3 separate regions of the Homo sapiens genome follow, and regions 1 and 3 are each linked to region 2. Evidence: promoter capture Hi-C in human tissues and cell types (Jung and others, 2019). All regions are on one chromosome and are shown on one strand. Each heading gives the region's core, a stretch centred on a gene start or on the middle of the fragment in contact. The rest is flanking DNA. Distances are from core to core; before and after follow the strand shown. Region 1 overlaps INTS4 (integrator complex subunit 4). Region 2 holds the start of RSF1 (remodeling and spacing factor 1). Region 3 overlaps RSF1 (remodeling and spacing factor 1).

Evidence for each region. The method cuts DNA at HindIII sites, captures the fragments that hold promoters and counts their contacts. A contact is called where the count stands out against the background at its distance.
Region 1: a contact is called between a fragment that was not itself captured here and the fragment with the promoter of RSF1 in region 2, in 1 of the 25 tissues and cell types used here (mesenchymal stem cells).
Region 3: a contact is called between a fragment that was not itself captured here and the fragment with the promoter of RSF1 in region 2, in 2 of the 25 tissues and cell types used here (aorta and dorsolateral prefrontal cortex).

What each region holds. Positions count from the first base shown.
Region 1 is chr11:77,977,908-77,981,085 of GRCh38, reverse strand. INTS4 (integrator complex subunit 4) reads left to right here. Exons shown (of 23, transcript NM_033547.4): 4 at 1,984-2,090. Among named protein-coding and RNA genes, the nearest start is that of INTS4, 15 kb to the left of the region's middle. The HindIII fragment of the contact is 5,857 bases long and covers 1-3,178 here.
Region 2 is chr11:77,818,893-77,822,242 of GRCh38, reverse strand. RSF1 (remodeling and spacing factor 1) reads left to right here and starts at 1,521. Exons shown (of 16, transcript NM_016578.4): 1 at 1,521-1,715. The coding sequence starts at 1,529. It overlaps AAMDC (adipogenesis associated Mth938 domain containing), which reads right to left and starts at 1,099. Exons shown (of 4, transcript NM_024684.4): 1 at 1,002-1,099. RefSeq lists silencers at 1,062-1,221, 1,812-1,901, 2,042-2,131 and enhancers at 1,322-1,461, 1,472-1,641, 1,194-2,166, 2,762-2,871, 2,167-3,140. The HindIII fragment of the contact is 12,017 bases long and covers 1-3,350 here.
Region 3 is chr11:77,684,018-77,687,499 of GRCh38, reverse strand. RSF1 (remodeling and spacing factor 1) reads left to right here. Exons shown (of 16, transcript NM_016578.4): 10 at 2,341-2,395. Among named protein-coding and RNA genes, the nearest start is that of CLNS1A, 48 kb to the right of the region's middle. The HindIII fragment of the contact is 6,273 bases long and covers 1-3,482 here.

The DNA of each region.
Region 1 (3,178 bases), core at 1-2,500, 160 kb before region 2:
ACCCTATTGCTTTCTAAAAGGATTATTTCAGCTTACACTGAAACCTGTAACTGAACATACAGTACTCGTTCCATCAAGAAACTTTTTTTTTTTTTAACGGAGTCTCGCTCTGTCTCCCAGGCTGGAGTGCAGTGGCACGATCTCGGCTCACTGCAAGCTCTGCCTCCCGGGTTCACGTCATTCTCCTGCCTCAGCCTCCCAAGTAGCTGGGACTACAGGTGCCTGCCACCACGCCCTGGCTGATTTTTTTTGTATTTTTAGTAGAGACAGGGTTTCACCATGTTAGCCATGATGGTCTTGATCTCCTGACCTTGTGATCCACCCACTTCAGCCTCCCAAAGTGCTGGAATTACAGGCGTGAGCCACTGTGCCCGGCCAAGACACATTTTTAAAAGCACTAAAACAGGCTAGGCACAGGTTAGGCTAGGCCTGTAATACCAAAACTTTGGGAGGTCGAGGTGGGAGGATCCCTTGAGCCCAGGAATTTGAGACCAGTCTGGGCAACATAATTAGATCTTGTCTCTACAAAATATTAAAAAATTAGCCAAACATGGTTGCTCACACCTTTATCCCAGCTGCTTGGGAGGCTAAAATGTGAGGACTTCTTGGGCCTAGGAGATTGAGGCTGCAGTGAGCCATGATCATGCCACTGCATTTCAGCCTGGGTGACAGAGCGAGACGCTGTCTCAAAAAATAAATTAAAATAAAAAAATAAATACAAGCACCAAAACAATAGCATTGCTTCAGTACAGAAGTATCATTTTTTCCCATGGAAAATTCTTATGGTAGCTACATGAGAGGTGACATTTTAAGGATAACTAGGTGTTCAGTGGGGAGTGGGGTCAAGAATGGAGTCAGGTGTGGGGGAAGGCATTCTACTTAGAGAAGTTAGCCTGAGCAAAGATAGGGGGCATGTAATTATAAGTAGTTGGAAAAAAGAGTGTTAAAGGAGACCTGAAAAAGATGAAGCTAGAAAGATAGGCAAGGGTAGACAACATGGAAGGCCTGGTATGTATGTATTATATGCCTTCTAGGATATTTGGACTTTATCTTGAAGGCAATGGAAAACTTTTTTTTTTTTCTGTTTCTTCTTTTTTTTTTTTTTTTTGAGATGGAGTCTTGCTCTGTCGCCTAGGCTGGAGTGCAGTGGAGCGATCTCGGCTCACTGCAACCTCCGCCTCCCGGGTTCAAGCGATTCTCCTGCCTCAGCCTCCTGAGTAGCTGGGATTACAGGCACGTGCCACCATGCCTGGCTATTTTTTGTGTTTTTAGTAGAGATGGTGTTTCACCATGTTGGTCAGGCTGGTCTCGAATTCCTGACCTCATGATCTGCCCGCCTCAGCCTCCCAAAGTGCTGGGATTACAGGCATAAGCCACCACCGTGCCTGGCCTTTTTTTTTTTTTTCTGTTTCTTAGTGTGAAAAAACTCTTGAATCAGTCAAGCACTAAACATTTTTGGAGCACACTATGTATATAGAACTGTACTCTATCCCGTGGAGGACTCAGACATTTAAACATGATCCCTTTAGGAACTTAGCTTTTAGTTGAGGGCATGAAGGATCACACAGTAGAACCCAGTTGACAAAAGTCTGTTTTTTTTTCTGTTTTTTTAGGACTGGGTCTCGCTCTGTTGCCCAGGCTGGAGTGCTGTGGCGCGATTACGGCTCACTGCTGCCTTGATCTCTGAGGCTCAAGCAGTCCTCCTACCTCGGCCTCCTAAGTAGCTGAGACTCTGGGCGCACACCACCTGGCTGACTCATTTTTTCAGATTTATTTTTGTAGAAACGGAGTCTCCCTATGTTGCCCAGGCTCGTCTTGAACTCCTGGGCTCAAGGGATTCTCCTGCCTAGGCTTCTCAAAGTGCTGGGATTACAGTTGTGAGTCACTGCGCCTAGCCAATCTACATTCTTTACCCAAGTAAATTAGTTTATATAGTTACCCCTTTCGAAATTCTACAAGCCAACTTTCTATCTCCCTCTCTAGAGTCTCATCAAGTCCTAGCTCAACTGCTGGATACTTTGCTTGCAATTGGCACTAAGCTACCAGAGAATCAAGCTATCCAAATGCGATTAGTTGATGTGGCCTGCAAGGTAAGAGTATAAAATCTATTCAGATCCATCCTAAACTGGTAACTGAGGACTGCTAAGGACCATTAATGGTTTTAGGAGCTGCCTTATTTTTTTCATCTCTTGGTGTTGGATTAGGAATAAAGTTAAGTACACTTGTTATAAAGTGTATTTCGTCATCCTTTCAAAACAAATGAAAATAATTACAGTACATAGTTACTGTGTATATTGTGCCTAATAATGCACTCTGCTTGTTATGGTGCTTTGTATTCAGTTTTTCATTTGGTCCTCACAATCCTTCAAGTAAGTACCGTTATTTCTCTTTTACAAAGGTGAAAATTAAGATTTATGGAGTCTGATTTGTCTAAGTTTGCACAGCTAGGAGGTTGCAGTACCAGGGTATAAACTGTATTTTTTCTGACCCCAAACTTGTTTTGTTTTTATTATGCCTTGTTGCTTCAATAAACAGACCAACTATACACAAGTAAATGTATGGGAAAAGTTTTGTACGTTCTTTTTTTCTGATTTTTAAATACATGTATTAATACATTAATTGTGCCTTTTGATTTAATTTGGAGGTTAATTAGCCTCTTTGTGTATACACAGCAACCCCTAGAACCCTGTAGAATTGATTTTACTTTGGATCTTTTTGATAACTTTGAGAATATAAAAAAGTCAAATGCATTTGAATTGTGTTAGAGTATTATATTCTTGAAATTAGAAAGCTATCTCAGAGATGCAGGAAAGATTACTTGATTTATCTTAAAACAACAGGCATACATAAAACCAAAAACACTTTGACAAGTACAATACTAAAAGCTTAAATAGGGCCAGGTGCGGTGGCTCACACCTATAATCCCAGCACTTTGGGAGGCAGAGGTGGGCGGATCATTTGACATCAGGAGTTTGAAACCAGCCTGACCAACATGGTGAAACCCCATCTCTACTAAAAATACAAAAAAAATTAGCCGGGCACGGTGATGCCTGCCTGTAATCCCAGCTACTAGGGAGGCTGAGGCAGGAGAATCGCTTGAACCTGCAAGACGGAGGTTATGTGAGTGGAGATTGAGCCACTGCACTCCAGTCTGGGTGATAGAGTGAGACTCTGTCTT
Region 2 (3,350 bases), core at 272-2,771:
GTCTGGAACTGCAGAGCTCAGGTGATGCACCCACCTCGGTTTCCCAAAGTGTTGGGATTACAGGCATGAGCCACCGCGCCCGGCCAAATTCTTTTTAGGAATTAGGTACTACATTGAGTTTTAAATGCACTCAGAAAATTCTCAAAGTAATAAATTATAGACTAAATAAATATAGCGGAATTCAGTCTAAATTATAGGAACTCCTTTTTTGATAACTAATATTTTTAAAGTACTCACTATGTGCTACGGCACTGTGCTAATCACTTTACTGTGATTTATCTAGTAATACCGTATGATGTAGGTACTATTATCACCCCACTCTAAGGAGTTCAAAGAAATAAAGAAACCTCCACAGTGTCATGAAGTAGCCCCGCTAGGACTCAGGCCTGGCTGAATCCAAAGCTCAGGCTTCTAAGCATAACGTGTACTGCTGCTTCTCAGGCTGCACATTCTATTTTACATTATTGGTAGTTTCTCTCTGGCGTTCTTTGTGGGAATGTTCACTGCCCCCGCCCCGCCCCGAAGTGGAACCCTGTCTTCTAACAAACTTTTCGCTGCTCCACCGTCTCCTGTCATGTTCCGCCTCTCAATGGAGTCCCAGCCCACACTCCGATTCTGGTCCCTGAACAGAGCCCCTTCCCCTCACACCATGGCCCCCTAGCAGAGCCTGGTCTCCTCAGATCCTCTTCTCCCAGCAGGGCCCCAACTCCTCACTCCGACGATTCCCCCAGAGTTCCGTTCCCTCAGATCCTGCTTTTCCAGCAAAGCTGCGATTCCTGTACCCCAGCAGAGAGCAATACCCCGTCGGCAAACTTCCACAGAGACATCTTACCGAGGTCCCAGCCCAGCCCCTAATTAAGGGCACACCTCTACCTTTCCCCTTCCCAACCTTCTCCCACAACTGTGCTTTCCCCCGCCCTATTCCCTTTTTCTGTTTATTAATTCTCCTCAACCTCTCCACCATCTCGTGGCCCAGTTTCAGGATTCCCCCGCAAACTCACCCACCGCACTGTCTCCTCAAAGTTGCGTTCCCAAACGGCGCAGTGCTCTGCCCGCACTTACGCTCCCAGCGCTGCTTCGGGATCTGCGCTCCCCAACTGCCCTCCGGGAATACGCCCTGCAGTTGAACAGCGCCCGAGGCCCCGCCCCCTCTGCGTCCATTGGCCATTGTTCTCGAGAAGTCCCGCCCCTCCCGCTTCCAGCCCGCCTCCCCGCCCCGCTTCCCTTGTTTTCATTCCCCCTGTCACACGAGGCAGTGGCAAGCCCGAAGGGGAGGAGAGAAGGGGGCGGAAAGAGGGCGGAAAGTGAAAGGCGCCGAGGGCCGCTCTGTCTCCCGTCTGACTCGGTTCTCGACTGCTCCGGGCCGCCGATGTATTGTGGGATCGCGGAGCCGTCCCTGAGACGCTGGGATCCGCAGAGGAGCCCACTTGAGAGCGCCTCCTGTCGTCTGTAAGGTTGCCTTGCCATCCCTCGGCACCACAACTTCCCCCGCCCCCCCATCGCCTCCTCCTCCATCCTCCAGTTCAAAATGGCGACGGCGGCGGCAGCGGCGGCGGTGATGGCTCCTCCGGGCTGCCCGGGTTCGTGCCCCAACTTCGCCGTAGTCTGCTCCTTCTTGGAGCGCTACGGGCCGCTGCTAGACCTGCCTGAGTTGCCGTTCCCTGAGCTGGAGCGGGTGCTGCAGGCGCCGCCGCCGGACGTCGGCAACGGAGAAGGTAAGCGAGGGGCCCGAACGCCCGGCGGGAAGCGGCCCTGGCGCTCTGCTACTCTCCGCTCTTCACAGGCGCCCCGGTTCTTCGCGGCTCGGGCCTCCGCGGCTCTGTCTTCCCCCTGGGACGCAACTCCGCCGGGCTGGTCTTCTCCGCCCAGCCCCCGGGGTCTTGGGCAGTGGGGAGGCGGGGCGGAGGCCCCCTAGGGCCACTCGGCCGGGCGGGGAGCTGAGGTGGAGGCGTTGCGGGCTAGGTGTGGGCTGGAGGCGGGGAGGGGTCATTGTGCCGGTCGGCAGCCCCGGGGACTGCTTCTCCGCGGCGGAGGGCGGCCCCCCACCCCGTCTCCCCCTTGGCGGCGGGGGAAGGGGAGCGCAGGTTCCGGCCAGCTTTGCGCTTTTCTCCTCCTCCCCACCCTTACTCCCTCCCCTCCTCCCACCAGTCTTCCCGACCATCTCGGGGAAGGCTGGGCTCGGCTGCTCCGGACACCTCCTTATCTCCCTTCACCTGGGTGGGCGGGGGCCAGCGGACACTCAACTCTCCCTCCCTCTGTTGGGAACTCCCCTGAGAGATTTGTCCCTTTTCCCTTCCCCTCGAGGGCTGCTTTAACCCCTAAAACTCCTTCCTTGAAGTGGGGAGGTCTGCTCCTCCCCCACGGGAGGGGGTTCTTCTCCATTCTCGGTAGGGGGGCGAAGTCGGTTCAGCTCCACTGTGGAGAGGAGAGGGTTAATTCCTCCTCCATAGTTCTCCTTCCTCTCCCCACCTCCCCCAAAATAATAGGCGAGCATCTCCCCACTTTTCCAATCCCTTCCCCCTTCATCTTGGCAGCCGGGCTTAGGCGAAGAAGTCGTCTCCCTCCCATTTGCACGGTAGGGTGGGGTGGTTAGTATGTAAGCTGGAGGAGGGGCTCTGACGGAGGGGGAAACAGTTGAAGAAGGTGCTTGTTGCTCATGTTTCTCTCTCTGGTGCCGCTGGTCTATTATTGGTGTTCGCAAGTGGTGCTCCTTCCACATAAGGCCACCGCGCGGGTGCAGGGCGCATGCTCTGCCCGGCCCCATTGAAACTTCCTGCTGCTGCTGCTGGTTCTTTTGCTGGAGCATCTCAGCGCTGCGCCTGCTGCCTCCAGCCTTCACACTGAGTGCTTATACTCACCCCCATTTATTCCCGATCCCTGCCTCTCCTTTTCTGGCACTTTTCTTTCCTCAGAGAAGGCTTTTTTGTTATACTCTGAGCATTGCCTTTATCTGGAAACAGCCCTTGGCTGGAGAAGAAACGTTTTCCAAATAGGTCTCTTTTTTTGTCCATATTAGCTGGCCAAAGTGGATTGGTTATTGTACAAGACAGATAGCTGTTTCCTTTCCAAGAAAGCAGGGTCGCTCTTCTATTCTCTATGTAAATGAAGAAGTTTCTGTTAACTGAATTTATTTGCATTGCTAGGAAGCGCCAAGTATGAAGTTCTTCAGAATATTACCTATAAAGAATCTGTATGATGTTATGGCTACCGAAGACTCAAATTAATACAGCAGTTATAATATAAGCCTAGTAATCTGTTCTTACCTGTCCACATTCCCTCTACCTGTAACAAACTGGCTTACAAAAGGCTAATTTAAAAAATAGTACAAAATAGGAGGGTGACTAATTACA
Region 3 (3,482 bases), core at 93-2,592, 130 kb after region 2:
GCCTAGCCTCAAGTGATCTACCCAAGGTTACCCAAGGTGGGTAACCTTGGCCTCCCAAAATTATGGGTTTACAGGCATGAGCTACCACACCTGGCTTTAAATGTCATCCTTTAAGAGGACATCTGTAATTATGACTTTATATCATACACTAAGTTCTCAGATTGTGTATAGAAAAGAAAGGAAAGTTACTGTTACAGGAAGACCAGTCTGGCACAGAGCCAGTTAATGGATTGTTGTTGGTGTTTGCTGATTCTCCCTAATAATCTGGTTAACAAAGCTTTTGTTGTATATAGTTCCTAGAATACAAGTATGTGTGTGTGTGCATGTATACACACACATGTATATGAATCTTAGGAGCTCTAAACAGCAAAATATGTGTTTCTAAAATAAATATTAGCTGTAAATTCTAGCCATCGTCATTCAGTTTTCTAAAGTAAGCACTTATATTCACTTTTTAAAAATCTGTGAAATAACTTATTAGCATTCATCCTAGCAGCTTAGAGGTGTACTTACTCCCTATGTCATAATACAAGAGCATTTTACTCCCTGTTTACTCCCTAAGCAACCCTTGTTTATGCAGTCATTCAACATTTAAGCAACATGTATTGGGTACCTACTTTATGCCAATGAGTGTAATCAAATGAGGAAGTATATAATGTGGTCTTTACCATAGAGGTCTCTACAGTCTTGTGGAAAAGAGGGATGGATATACATTTCAGTGAGTATTTAGTGGCTAGCCAGCAACTGTCTACAGACCTGATGGTGTGATGCTCTGTGAAATCTGATGTTTTAGAAGTCCACTGAATGATTTTTAAACATACCAGTTTTAATAGCATCACAACCTATCTCTAAAAAGACCATGAATATTCTTGTTAGCAGGGCACTAAAGGCTGCACTCTAAAAGACCTAGCCAGCTGGATACATTAATATCCTTATATAAGGAACATTACAAGCAGAGAGAGACAGAATGATTACTATTTCAGTTCAGTTCAATTTAACATACAGAGGCATGTCAGAGCTCAGCTGTTCTTGAATTGGATTAACTTTGAGAGAACCAGGGAAAACACCTGCTTTTTTTTTTTTTTTTTTTTGAGACAGGGTCTCACTCTTGATGCCCAGGCTGGAGTGCAGTGGCATGATCAAAGCTCACTGCAACCTCCAACTCCTGAGTTCAAGTAATCTTCCCATCTCAGCCTTCTGAGTAGCTGGGACAATAGGTGTGTGCCACCATACCTGGCCAATTTTTATTTTTTCAATTTTTATAGAAACAGGCGTCTCACTGTGTTGCCCAGCTGGTCTTGAATTCCCAGCGTCGGGGGACCTCCTGCTTTGGATTACAGGCATGAGCCACCACACCCAGCCATCCTGCTGTTTTTTTAATATGTAATTTAATTAAAATCAACAAAGGTTTGTTTCTTGGAAATGAAACTATGGAGATGTCATTGGCTCAAGTCTGTATTTCCTGGCTCTAGTTATCTTCAGCTGTGGCCTTCTAGAGCACAGAGCTATACGTCTGCATTGCTTTTTTCTCTTTCAACAGCAAGGAATGAATGGTCTCAGTGTCATTCACTGGGACCTTGATAAGGTTTTGTTTACATAATTTTTATAGCAATATTTATTACCATGAGTTTATAATTGTTTATACATACACCCAAAATATTACTAAAAACTTTCTCCAGCATAACAAAGATCTAATTTGTCTAATCAAAGGTGGCTTTCCATCTAATCTTATCAACTTGTCACAGCATGACTCTTGATGAAGTTGCTTGTCTTATTTCAGTTATAGGTTTTATTTCACCAATGTAAGTCATTTCTGAAAGATATTGTTATCTTAACCCTAGGAAATGTTGAGCTCCCCACACATACTAATACTATATTAAAGTTTTATACTTAATAGCTAACATGGGCCAGGAGCAGTGGTCACACCTATAATCCCAGCACTTTGAGAGGTCAAGGTGGGTGGATCGCTTGAGGCCAGGAATTTGAGACCAGCCTGGCCAACATGGCAAAACCCCATCTCTACTAAAAATACAAAAATTAGCTGGTTGTGGTGGCTCTCACCTGTAATCCCAGCTACTTGCAAGGCTGAGGCAGTAGAATCACTTGAACCCGGGAAGTAGAGGTTGCAGTGAGCTAAGATTACGCCACTGCACTCCACCCTGGGCAAGAGAGTGAGACCTTGTCTATAAATAAATAAATAAATAATAGCTAACATTTCTGTGACTTACCCTCTGCTGTTAACGTGAAATTGTAATTTTAACATTATGTGTATTCGTGATGTTTACATAACAGTTTTATTTTCTGCAAATCTCATGTATTTTGTTTGTTTTTCACCTAAAGAAAAGAACGCTTGGTGTATGTTGGTATCAGTATTGAAAACATCATTCCTCCACAAGTAAGTTTCTGATTTGTAATGTTTTTAAATGGGAGATTGTCATAATTGCTCTAAAATTTTACCCACCTTATGTAATGTTAGTGGTTTTATTTATTTATTTATTTATTTATTTATTTCGAGATGGAGTTTCGTTCTTGTTGCCCAGACTGGAGTGCAATGGCGCAATCTCTGCTCACTGCAGTGTCTGCCTCCTGGGTTCAAGCAATTCTCCTGCCTCAGCCTCCTGAGTAGCTGGGATTACAGGTGCCCGCCACCATACCGGCTAATTTTTGTATTTTTAGTACAGACGGGGTTTCACCATGTTGGCCAGGATGGTCTCGAACTCCTGACCTCAGGTGATCTGCCTGTCTTGGTCTCCCAAAGTGCTGGGATTATAGGTGTGAGCCACTGCTCCTGGACAGTGGTTTTAAATCTATGATACACCAGTATTAAAAATGGAAATTTAAGACCTTCGAGAAATCACCCATAATCCCTCATGATTGAAATTTTATGTATGCAGGTAACTCCAAAATGTGATATCACATCTAAACTAAACTTACAGCTTTTACCTTTGGAGTATGTTTTCTGTTTTTACACTGAACTTTATAATGTGTTGTTAGCTTGTTTTGCATGCTGTTTATGTAAAATGACTAAAGAAGAGTTTGGGGAGATTTGATTTTTAATTTTTATTTTGGGGATTGTTGAAAACTTCAGTTTGTATTTTTCAACACAGTTTGGGTTTTTTGAAGGATTACCTTTGTTTTGCATTTATTAGTCTAATTTATAACTAAGGTGGGTATATCATGAGTGAAAGTGCATAAAATGTGGTTTTGTAATTTACATAATTTGTAATTTTTGCAATTTGTAAAAATGTGTATAAGTAATTTCATTCCGGCTTAATTAAATCACAAGCTTAAAAGGCCTGTCAAGTTATTTCCTTGAGTAGCAACCCCTTTCTTCTAAATCTTTCATTCATGCAGCATACCTGTTGAACATCTTCTGTTGCAAATTAAATTATTTATCAATGGAAAAACTTCATCATGACTGTTTTAAAACAAGTACTGGTTATAATCTCACAAAAGCGTCAGAATTTTAATACAGAAGGATT